Regions from separate parts of the Homo sapiens genome. Here region 2 is linked to region 1. The links are contacts of gene promoters, found by promoter capture Hi-C in human tissues and cell types (Jung and others, 2019). All regions are on one chromosome and are shown on one strand. The core of a region is centred on a gene start or on the middle of the fragment in contact, and the rest is flanking DNA. Distances in the headings are between cores, read along the strand shown. Region 1 holds the start of TNNT1 (troponin T1, slow skeletal type). Region 2 overlaps LOC124904771 (a long non-coding RNA gene).

What was found. Contacts are between HindIII fragments. The study calls those that stand out against the background at their distance.
Region 2: a fragment that was not itself captured here is called in contact with the fragment with the promoter of TNNT1 in region 1 in 4 of the 25 tissues and cell types used here (IMR-90 fibroblasts, lymphoblastoid cells, mesendoderm cells and 1 more).

Annotation. Positions count from the first base shown.
Region 1 is chr19:55,147,667-55,153,479 of GRCh38, reverse strand. TNNT1 (troponin T1, slow skeletal type) reads left to right here and starts at 4,274. Exons shown (of 14, transcript NM_003283.6): 1 at 4,274-4,319. It overlaps TNNI3 (troponin I3, cardiac type), which reads left to right. Exons shown (of 8, transcript NM_000363.5): 8 at 1,563-1,713. The coding sequence ends at 1,646. The HindIII fragment of the contact is 19,018 bases long and covers 1-5,813 here.
Region 2 is chr19:55,217,223-55,223,425 of GRCh38, reverse strand. It overlaps LOC124904771 (a long non-coding RNA gene), which reads right to left. Exons shown (of 2, transcript XR_007067346.1): 2 at 6,001-6,203. Among named protein-coding and RNA genes, the nearest start is that of TMEM86B, 8.4 kb to the left of the region's middle. RefSeq lists a silencer at 5,291-5,477. The HindIII fragment of the contact is 5,464 bases long and covers 1-4,675 here.

The DNA of each region.
Region 1 (5,813 bases), core at 3,025-5,524:
TCGCTTGAGCCCATGAGATCGAGGGTGCAGTGAGCTATGACTGCACCACTGCACTCCAGCCTGGGCAATACAGTGAGACCCTATCTTAAAGAAGAAGACAGGAAAGATAGGAGTGGATGCCTGAAACCATGGATTGTACTGAACCCTATATGTAATTTTTTTTCCTATACACACATACATACCTATGATAAAGTTTCATTTCTAAATTAGACACAGTAAGAGATTAACAATAAATAACAACAAAAGAAGGTTGGGCGTGGTGGCTCATGCCTGTAATCTCAACACTTTGGGATGCTAAGGCAGGCAGATTGCTTGAGCTCTGGAGTTCGAGACCAGCCTGGGCAACATGGCGAGACCATGTCTCTATAAAAAATACCAAAGTTACCGGGTGTGGTGGCTCGTGCCTGTAATCCCAGCGCTTTGGGAGGCCAAGGCGGGCGGATCATGAGGTCAGGAGTTTGAGACCAGCCTGGCCAACACAGTGAAACCCCACCTGTAGTAAAAATACAAACATTTGCTGGGCGTGGTCGTGGGTGCCTGTAATCCCAGCTACTTGTGAAGCTGAGGCAGGAGAATTGCTTGAACCCGGGAGGCAGAGGTTGCAGTGAGCCGAGATCTCACCACTGCACTCCAGCCCAGGCAACACTGGGAGACTCCATCTCAAAACAAAACAAAACAGAACAAAAGTTAGCTGGGCATGGTGGCACACACCTGTGGTCCCAGCTCCTCAGGAGTCTGAGGTGAGAGGATGGCTTGAGCCCAGGAAGTTGAGGCTGCAGTGAGCCGAGATTGCACGACTGCACTCCAGCTTGGATGAGGCAGCCAGACCCTGTCTCAAATAATAATAATAATAAAATAGAACAATTATAACAGATTGTAATAAAACTCATGAATGTGGTCTCTTTCTCAAAATATCTTATAGCACTGTAATCACCCTTCTTTTCCTTGTGATGTAAAATGACAGTGCCTATGTGCTGAGATGAGGTGAGGTGGATGACATAGGCATTATGACCTGGCGTTAGGCTACTATTGACCTGAGAATCCATCAAACTTATGAATTGTTTATTTCTGGAATTTTCCATTTAATATTTTTGGGCCATGGTTTACCTCAGGTAACTGAAACCACACAAAGTAAAATTGCAGAAAAGGAGGGACTACTATAATAAGAAGAGAAGGAAGGAGACAGGAAGGGCATAAGGCAGACAGGAAGTGGAGGGGAAAGATAGGAAGTGCAGGAAGGAGACAGGAAGTGGAGGGGAAAGACAGGAAGTGCATGAGGGAGACAGGAAGTGGATGGGGAAAGACAGAAAGTACATGAGGGAGACAGGAAGTGCTGGGGAAAGACAGGAAGTGCATGAGGGGGACAGGAAGTGCATGAGGGAGACAGGAAGTGCATGGGGAAAATTGGCAGGGATTATCTTGAAAAGACAGGAAGTGCTCCAGAACTAGATACTTAGGCATCCAGGGTAGAGTGGCCCCACAGGCTGGAGGGAAGACAGGGATTCTTGAGAGACTGGAGACCAAGAAGAGACCCTAACCTCTGACTCATCGCCATCCTCCAGGAAAACCGGGAGGTGGGAGACTGGCGCAAGAACATCGATGCACTGAGTGGAATGGAGGGCCGCAAGAAAAAGTTTGAGAGCTGAGCCTTCCTGCCTACTGCCCCTGCCCTGAGGAGGGCCCTGAGGAATAAAGCTTCTCTCTGAGCTGAAAGTGACTCCATGTCTATTACCCAGGGCTTAGGCAGGAGACAGATGGGAAGACTGCAGGTGGGGCTCCCCCAAAGCCACACAGCAGGTTGGGGACCAGATGGGTCTCCCATGTGAAGCACTCTTGGCTGTGTTATTGAAAAGAATCCCGGGGTTCATGAATTTGGAGAGCGGAGCTTTGTTTCTTAAGAAGCGGATCACAACCTGAAGACCAGAAGCATGGCTTCTTGCCAAAAAACAAAAGCAGGCACTTTAAGGGAGGGAAGGGCAAGGCAGGAATTTATGCTGAGTGGGTTAGCTAAGTGCACGTATTCAACTGGTTATAGAAGGAGCTATGAATATTCATGGACAGGTGGACACATGGACACACGCATGTGTGACAAGCAAACACTCATTTTTTTTTTTTTTTGAGACGGAGTCTTGCTCTGTCACCCAGGCTGGAGTGCAGTGGCACGATCTCAGCTCACTGCAACCTCTGCGTCCTGGGTTCAAGCCATTCTCCTGCCTCAGCCTCTCCAGTAGCTGGGATTACAGGCATGCACCACCACGCCCAGCTAATTTTTGTGTTTTTCGTAGAGACGGGGTTTCACCATGTTGGCCAGGCTGGTCTCGATTTCCTGACCTCGTGATCCGCCCTCCTTGGCCTCCCAAAGTGCTGGGATTACAGGCGTGAGCCACCGCGACTGGCCGCAAACACATTTTACATGCATCCCACCTTCACTTGGTGGTGGAGGCTTAACATTTAAGTGCATTCCATTGAATGCATTCGTATCGAAACACGAAGCAGGGATATGAAGACACTCAGTGCACAGCCTCTGTCAACAGCCAGAACCAGTCCGTGGTCTGCGGCATCTTATCAGGAGAAAGTTACTGAAATCAGTCTCTTGTTCAACTAATGCTGTAGTTATGCCTTGTGGAACAGGGGGTTCAGCTAGTCAGCATCTGGCAATGGATGGCTGCAATGGTTGTAATATTGCTTATCTTGAGGCCGGTGCTTGTTTAGCTGCTAGAAAAAGGAAAAGCCTTGTGGCAGTTGGAACATAGTCGATTATATAAGTGTAGGGATGCGTGGCTTAACCCTTGCCTGGCATGGCCTTAGGTCTTGTTTATAATTTGGTATCTTATTGCCACAAACAGTTCATTCCATCAGTCTTCTGATCTCTATTGTCACAGCTCCTCTGGCCCATGTGGAGTGCACAGAGATGCCAAGACTAAAGGTCAAAGAGAGAGAGACACAGAGAAACAGACAGGCAGAGAGACATGACCGACAACAGAGAGACTGAGTTGGGAGTAGAGAGAGTAGGAGCCAGGCAAAGACCCAAAGAGAGAGGGAGAAAATACCACAAGATGCATAGAAGGAAGTGCAAAGAAAGGAGAAAAGAGAGACAGAGATATACTCACAGCAAGGTGCAGAGACATGGAGACCCTATAAGAGATGGAAATGGAGAGCCACAGAGGGGGAACTGCGGGCACTAAGAGAGACATGGAGAGAACTAGAAAGATAGAGACGTGAACACAGACACAGAGACCCAGAGCCAAAAAGAGACAGAAATGGGGTCATAGGTGGACAGAAATGCACAGAGAGACTGTGAGCCCCCACAGACACAAACGCTGAGAGGGGCAGACATGCAGAGACACCCACAGAAATGCAGAGACAAAACCACCCGGAGACACATGCCGAGAAACACACTGAGGGGCTCAGAAAGCGACAGATGCAGAGAGAGCCCAAGACAGACCCAGCAAGGGGCCCCGAGAAATGCACAGAAACACAAAGACCGAGACCACCAGAGACAGAGGTACGGAGAGGCGGGGAGGGTGAGGAAGCCTGCTCTCCAGGGCTGGCTTGAACCTAGAACTCAAGGTCATGGCTTGGCTGGGAAGCGGGAGGGGGATACCAAAAAAGATCAGCGTTAGATGGAGGTGGGGAGGGAGGGTAGGTTTCACCCTAATTGACACCCCACCCTCCCCCTCCCCCTCCCCACACCTGCTTCCCGGCTTTAGTGCCTGTTGTCACCAGGATGGAATCCTGGCGGCAGACAAAGGGGTGGGGGTGGGAGGAGGAGACAAAAAGATGGACAGAGACAGAGGAGGAGACTAAGAAGTAGAGACAGACACACAGAGACACACAGATGGAGAGCCACAGAGACAACAGAAATGGGGGTCCAGAAAGAGACCTAGATAGAAAGAGGGAACAGAGAGAAGAAAACAGGAAACATTCCTTATAGCCCATGTGTCATTAGTAGGTCCTCCAAGGACCTACTGTGTGCCGGGCATGGGGACGTCAAAGCACAGGGAGCTATAAGGGAGGTAGTTGGAGCACCACGGGAGCCTGGGGTGTGGGGTGGGAGCAGGGGCGGGGCTCCTGGGCCATGCAGATGGGGTTGGCATGGGGTTGGGGAGGGGCCCACGGAGGCTTCTGGACTCTGAGTGTGGAGCCAGGGGCAGCAGGGCTGTCTCTGAACTCCCAGGCTTGTGTTTGAGCAAAGGAATTCTCTCCCCCTCCCTCTCCCCTCGGGGCGGGCCCGAGCCTCCAGCTATAAACTCCCCGGAGCTTCAGTGCCCTCAGCAAGGCTCAGCCTCAAGATTCACAGCATCTCAGACACAGCCTAGGTAAGGGGCTCTGCGGAGCCCTGTGGTCTTCAAAAACCATGTCCTTGGGGGAGGGGGCAGGAGGCAGGTGGGGAAGATGTCGGGTGTGGAGAAATGGTGCAGAGGTAGGTGGGGCATACAACTGGAGGTCTGGGAACTTGAGAGGCTCAGACTTTAGGGGGACTCAGGATAGAGGGGAAAATACTAGGATTTGTGGGTTACACAAATCCTAACCCGGGGCTGCCAGGACTTGGATGTCCCAGAATAAAACCTCCTAGGATCTTGGGGTTCTGGGAATCTGGGGGAAATCTCAGCAGTCAGGGATATCTGGACTTGGAGGTCAAACAATCTGGGTGTCAGGATTTGGGGCCTCAGACTCTGAGGGTATCAGGAATTGGGGGGGTCTCAGAAGAAATTGGGGTTTTGGTAGTGGAGGGCTCGGAATCTGAGACATTATGATAGAAAGCATGAAAACTTAGAGTGCCATTATCTGGGGTATCATGAACTGGGCCTCCGAGTTTGGGTATCAAGATTTTGGGGGTCTCATATTCTTGAGGTTTCAGATTTTAGGAGGTCTCAAGACCTGGGGGTGGTCTTAGGATGTCCCGGCCCATATCTGGACTATCAAGAACTGGGATTTCAGAATCCAGAGCTGTGAGGACTTGCTGGCCTCAGAAACACGGGCATCATAAATCGGGGTCTCAGAATCTGTGGGTATTGGGATTTGGGGCTAGGCACCCTGTGGCCTAGGGTGTCTCAAAGACTTTGAGGTCTAAGAATGTAGGGGTCAGGGTGAGGTCTACGGACAGAAGGTGCCCTTTATGCCCCTGCCCCCTACGTGATGTATGGGAAGGTGAAAGGGGAGACAGGTGGGGAGGAAACCAGCCAGTGGGGTGGGGCGAGTGGGAGAGGGGATGCGGGTGACTAATTCTCCCAGAAGCCCCCCTTCCTCAAATCCCTTCTTAGGAAATGTCCTCGGTTTCACCATCTATGACATCCCCCCAAAATAGCTCCTGGGGGTGGGGCAGCTATTGTCTTCAGGCCACTGTCCCTTCTCAAATGCCTCTTCCTAATCCCAACTGGATCAGGTTCCCATGGACTTGTCATAAGACAAAAGAGGACAGCTGTGCTGAGGGGGCAGGGTCTGCAGCCTCCTGGCTGTGCCAGGACCACACCTACCAAGGTCTGTCCTCATGCATGCTTTAGGACAGCCGGCCCCCTCCCTCAGACCCAAGAGTCCAGACCTGAGCCCTCCTCCCTCAGACGCAGGAGTACAGGCCCCCAGCCCGCTCCTCCCTCAGACTCAGGAGTCTAGACTCCCAGCCTCTCCTCCCTTAGATCCAGGAGTCCAGGCCCCAGCTCCTCCTCCCTCAGACCCAGGAGGCCAGGCCCCCAGACCCTCCTCCCTCAGACCCAGGCGTCCAGGCCCGCGGCCCCTCCTCCCTCAGACCCAGGCGTCCAGGCCCCTGGCCCCTCCTCCCTCAGATCCAGGAGTCCAGACCCCAGCCCCTCCTC
Region 2 (6,203 bases), core at 694-3,193, 72 kb before region 1:
CTATGGGGTGTGGTCTGTGAAGCAGGTTCACTGTGCACTGGTTACCAACTTGCCAGAGTGATGAGACAGAACGCCACACGCAAAAAGTTACATGAAGTGGGCTTGTTTCTCACAGATGGGCAGCAAGGGACAGCAGAATCCCAGGGTCCGTTGTAAGCTGGTCCCCCAAGGCTTAGGAAAGTGGCCTAGGGAGGATAGGGTCACAACTGTGTGTGCCTCACTTGTATGGCAGCTGAGGGACCCCAAAAAGTACCCAGCCCTGGGTTTTCTACTCTGGGGGAAACCTGAGTCACCGGGCTCAAGCATTGAAGGGCATCCTGTTTCTAGGGCAGGCAGGAATGGAGCCCAGGCCGCCTGGCCAGTCCCTCCATATCTCCGGATGTTGCATTCCCAGCACATTCTACTGTTACTCTTGAGAACTACAAGTAAGAGACAACTGGGTCTGTTTAAGGCCACTCAGATAACCTTCCTGCAGGAACCCTGACCCCCTTCCCTTCCTTTCCTTACCCGGCCAGGTCATGGATCTGAGGATACAGGCTCAGACCCTGAGTTCTGTTACACTAAGGTGTATATCCCCCCGGGGCCCAGACCCCCACACCTACACCTACTGGGTCCAGTGGGCAGGGACCACGGCCCCCAGTGGGACCAGAAGTGTGGCAGAGATGGGGTTGTGGTGGAGGCCCTGGAATCTGGGGCTTCATAAACCTTCATTGTGTGGGCTGAAAGGCGAGGTGGCTCATGCCTGAAATCCCTGCACTTTGGGAGGCTGAGGCGGGTGGATCACCTGAGGTCAGGAGCTCGAGACCAGCCTGGCCAATACGATGAAACCCTGTCTCTACCAAAAATACAAGAAAATTACCTGGGCGTGGTGGTGCATGCCTGTAATCCTAGCTACTCAGGAGGCTGAGGCAGGAGAATCACTTGAACCCGGGAGGTGGAGGTTGCAGTGAGTCAGGATCGCACCACTGTGCTCCAGCCTGGGCGACGAGCAAAATTCCATCTCAAAAAATAAATAGTCGGTCACGGTGGCTCACGCCTGTAATCCCAGCACTTTGGGAGGCCAAGGCAGGCAGATCATGAGGTCAGGAGTTCAAAACCAGCCTGGACAACATGGTGAAACCCTGTCTCTACTAAAAATACAAAAATCAGGCATGGTGGCACATGACTGTAATCCCAGCTACTCGGGAGCCTGAGGCAGGAGAATCGCTTGAATTCGGGAAGTGGAGGTTGCAGTGAGCCTAGATCGTGCCATTGCACTCTAGCCTGGGTGACAGAGTGAGACTCTGTCTCAAAATAAATAGCCTGGTGTGGTGGCTCACGCCTGTAATCCCAGCACTTTGGGAGGCCGAGGCAAGCAGATCACCTGAGGTTGGGAGTTCGAGACCAGCCTGACCAACAACATGGAGAAACCCCGTCTCTACTAAAAATACAAAACTAGCCGGGTGTGGTGGTGCATGCCTGTAGAATTGCTTGAACCCAGGAGCCGGAGGTTGTGGTGAGCTGAGATCGCACCATTGCACTCCAGCCTGGGCAACAAGAGCGAAACTCCATCTCAAAAATAAAATTAAAAAAAAATAAATTTTCTGCATCTTAGCAGGTTCTCCTGTCTCCCCTCCAGTTTGTACCTCCCTTCCCCAAGAGTGACCAGTCTCCTGATCTTTATCATCGTAAATTAGTGTAGTCTGTCCTTGAAACTTCTCTAAGTGGAATTATACAGTATGTAGTTATTTGATTCTGGCTTTCTTCACTCAACATTGTGGATGAAATGTGGATCCATGCTGGGTGTTTTTATTTTTATTGCTGTGTACTATTTATCGCATGAATGTATTACAACTTATTGTTTCATCCCTCCCTTCATGAACATTTTATGTTTCTAGTTTTGGGATACTATGAATGAAGCTACCATGAACATTTCTGTCCATGTCTTTTGGAGCACACAGGAAGTTTTTTCCCTCAGATGTCTGCCTAGCAGTGGAATCGCTGAGTGATGGTATACGTACCTTAGGCTTTCGTAGTTACTGACAAACCATTTCTCAAAGCAGCTTACCAGTTTACCATCCTGCCAGCAATGTGAGGAAGCTTCATTTGCCCCATATTCTTGCAGATAGTTGGTTGTTCGTCTTTTCCATTTTAGTTCTTCTGCTGCAGTGTTCTGGTGCTTCCTTGTGGTTTAATTTCCATAATGACTAATGAAGTTGAACACATTCCCATTTGTGTGTATGTGTGTGTGTTTGTGGCCATTTGGATATTCTTGGTAAAGTGTCTCTTCAAGTCCATTGCCCATTAAATGGGTCTTCTGCCTTCCTTAATTTGTAGAAAGTCTTTGAAAATATAAAGGGTACAGCTCTTTTGTCAGATGTTTGTGTCACCAAGTGTCATCATGGCCTAGTTTTAACTCAGGGCTCTGCTAAATCACATGGGATCACAGGTGTAGAAGGGTTTGCTTTCCGAGAGGACTGCAGAGATTTCCCCCACTCCCCTGCTCCAGCCTTCCCTTCTCTCATAGAAACAAATGTAGGGAATCTCTCTTTTCTCCTGCAGAGTCCAGGGTTGCTAGAGGACTGAGAAGGGCTGTGCCATGTTTTCTCCTCAGCGCCGAGAGAGACTGGGTTTTCCCTGAAAATGACAAACTTGTCAGGTGTGCCCCCAACAAACGCGTATTCAGCACCGAGGACAGCAATCCCAGGAGCTGCCAGAGCCTACAGGCCCAGAAATGGCTGCAAATGGGCGGAGCCATGCTGTCTGTCCACCTCTCCCTGTGTGATCTGGGGTCGAGCCTTCCTTGCTTTCTGCTGTGGTTTCACCCCTCAGCTTAGACTTTAACAATAGCAGAAGATGATCAGTAAATACGTAAAATGGAGACATGATCAAGGAGGGGAGAGGTGGGGACACGTGTGTGTGAGTTCTGGAAAGACTTTAGGACAGCTTCATCCCTCACCTGGATGCCCTGATGAGCATGGTAGGGAGGAGCCCCACGGTCTGCCTTCCTCACTATCCTACACTTCCTTATTCCAGGACACTGGCAAAAATGATGTGGCCCAGCATGCCCCCCAGAGCTGGCCTCTGTTGGATGCTTCCTGCCTGTGAGATGACAAAGAGCTGTGTGGTTCCTGGTCTTTCTCCCTCCTTGCTTCTGACCATGAACACAGAAAGGTCGCTAGCACCCTTGGATCTTGGAAGAGGGAAAGACAGGAACTCCACAGTCCTTTCCCCTGAGCTACCAAAGCATTCTTCCCCTGCCTCAAGTCAGCATCATTTGGGGAATGGAGCTGAGAAAATTTATTCTGGGTGTGGAAGAAGGAATCTACCAAACCCAATGCTCCCTGGGTTCTGAGCAGTGGGGGTGGGGTTGGGATTGTGCCATAGTTTTGAATCAATACTTTGAAAGCACTTTGGGGCCGGGTGCGGTGGCTCATGCCTGTAATCCCAGCACTTCAGGAGGCTGAGGTGGGCAGATAACAAGGTCAGGAGATCGAGACCATCCTGGCTAACACGGTGAAACCCCGTCTCTACTAAAAATACAAAAAATTAGCCAGGCATGGTGGCGGCTACTCGGGAGGCTGAGACAGGAGAATGGTGTGAACCCGGGAGGCAGAGCTTGCAGTGAGCCGAGATCACGCCACTGCACTCCAGCCTGGGCGACAGAGTGAGACTCTGTCTCAAAAAAAAAAAAAAAGAGAAAAAAGAAAAAAGAAAGCACTTTGGGAGGCCAAGACAGGTGGATCACTTGAGGTCAGGAGTTCCAGACCAGCCTGGCCCATATGGCGAAACCCCATCTCTACTGAAAATACAAAAATTAGCTGGGCATGGTGGTGGGCGCCAGTAATCCCAGCTACTCAGGAGGGTGAGGCAGGATAATCGCTTGAATCCGGGAGGTGGAGGTTGCAGTGAGCCAAGATCGTGCCATTGCACTGCAGCCTGGGTGACAGAGTGGGACTTTGTCTAAAACAAAACAAAAAACACTAACAGATGAATCTACCTGGGGAAGTATGTCTTTTTCAGGGGGCATAAAGCTCATCCCTGCTATTATGAACTGAATTTCATCCTCCTTCAAAAATTTGTAAGTTGGCGTCCCAACCTCCAGTACCTCAGAATGTGATTGTATTTGGAGACAGGGTCTTTGAAGAGGTGATTAAGATAAAATGAGGTCACTTTGAGATGCTGAGGCAGATGGATTGCTTGAGCCCAGGAGTTTGAAATCTTCCTGGGCAGCACGGTGAGAACCCCATCTCCCCAGATTTTTTTTTAATTAGCCAAGCTGGGCATGGTGGCTCACGGCTGTAATCCCAGCACTTTGAGACGCAGAGGCAGGTGGATCACTTGAGGTCAGGAGTTCAAGACCAGCCTGGCCAACATGGTGAAACCCTGTCTCTACTTAAAAATAAAAAAATTAGGCCAGGCATGGTGGCTCACGCCTGTAATCCCAGCACTTTGAGAGGCCGAGGCGGGTGGATCACCTGAGGTCAGGAGTTCAAGACCAGCCTGGCCAACATGGTGAAACCCCATCTCAACTAAAAATACAAAAAAATTAGGTGGGTGTGGTGGCAGGCACCTGTAATCCCAGCTACTCAGGAGGCTGAGGCAGGAGAATCTCTTGAATACGGGAGGCAGAGGTTGCAGTGAGCTGAGATCATGCCATTGCACTCCAGCCTGGGCGACGAGCAAAACTCTGTCTCAAAAAAAAAAAAAAAATAGCCGGGTATGGTGGTGGGCACCTGTAATCCCACCTACTCAGGAGGCTGAGGCAGGAGAATCGCTTGAACCTGGTAGGCAGAGGTTGCAGTGAGCCGAGATCGCGGGACTGCACTCCAGCCTTGGCAACAGAGCAAGACTCGGTCTAAAATAAATAAATAAATATATATATACATTATATATATATACACATTATATATATATACATTATATATATATACACATTATATATATATACATTATATATATACACATTATATATATATACATTATATATATACACATTATATATATATACATTATATATATACACATTATATATATATACATTATATATACACACATATATATACATTATATATATATACACATATATATACATTTTATATATATATACATTATATATATATATATATATATATATATATATATATATATATATATATATATATGTAAGCCAGGCATGGTGATGTGCCACTGTAGTCCCAGCTACTCAGGAGGCTGAGGTGGGAGGATCACTTGAGCCCAGGATGTAGAGGCTGCAGTGAGCTGTGTTCGTACCACTGCACTCCAGCCTGGGAGACAGAGTGAGATGCTGTCTCAAAAAAAAAAAAAAAAAAGTCACACTAAGGTGGGCCATAATCCAACCTGACTGGTGTCCTTATCAGAAGAGGAGGTTAGGACACAGACACATGGAGGACAAGGGAGAACACGGCCATTTGCAAGCCAAGGAGAAAGAGGCCTCAGGAGGAACCAACCCTGCCCACATTTTCATCTTGGACCTCCAGCCTCCAGAACGGTGGGAAAACAAATCTCTGCTGTTTGGGTCACCTAGTCTATGCTCTTTGTTGTAGTAGCCCTAGCAAACGAATATACCAGTTTTTATGGAAAACCACACAGCGCCCAGATTCCTGGGTTCCGAACAATGGGGGATGGAATTTTCTCATAGTTTTTGTTTTGTTTTGTTTTGTTTTTGTTTTTTCTTTTTTTGAGACGGAGTCTCGCTCTGTCGCCCAGGCTGGAGTGCAGTGGCACGATCTTGACTCACCGCAGCCTCCACCTCCGGGTTCAAGCTATTCTCCTGCCTCAGCCTCCCGAGTAGCTGGGATTACAGGAGCCTGCCACCACGCCTGGCTAATTTTTGTCTTTTTAGTAGAGACGGGATTTTCAGAACCATATTGGCCGCACTGGTCTCGAATTCCTGACCTAAAGTGATCCACCCGCCTCGGCCTCCCAAAGTGCTGGGATTACAGGCGTGAGCCACCGCGCCCCGCCCGAAGTTATTTACTCAAGACTCAAAAAAGTTATCGATGATCCCATCTGGAGGAAATATGTTTTTTCCATGGGACGCTAAGGACATCCCGCCTTCCCCATCCCCCGCAGTCACTTTTCTGTTTATTACATCAGCCTGTGTTCCCACCACGAGTGCTGCTCTGGGGTGCAGGGCGCTTTGGCCCTGGGTTGGTAAGATTCGCTAAAGACGGTGGCGTGTTCTCTCCCGAGTCTGCTTT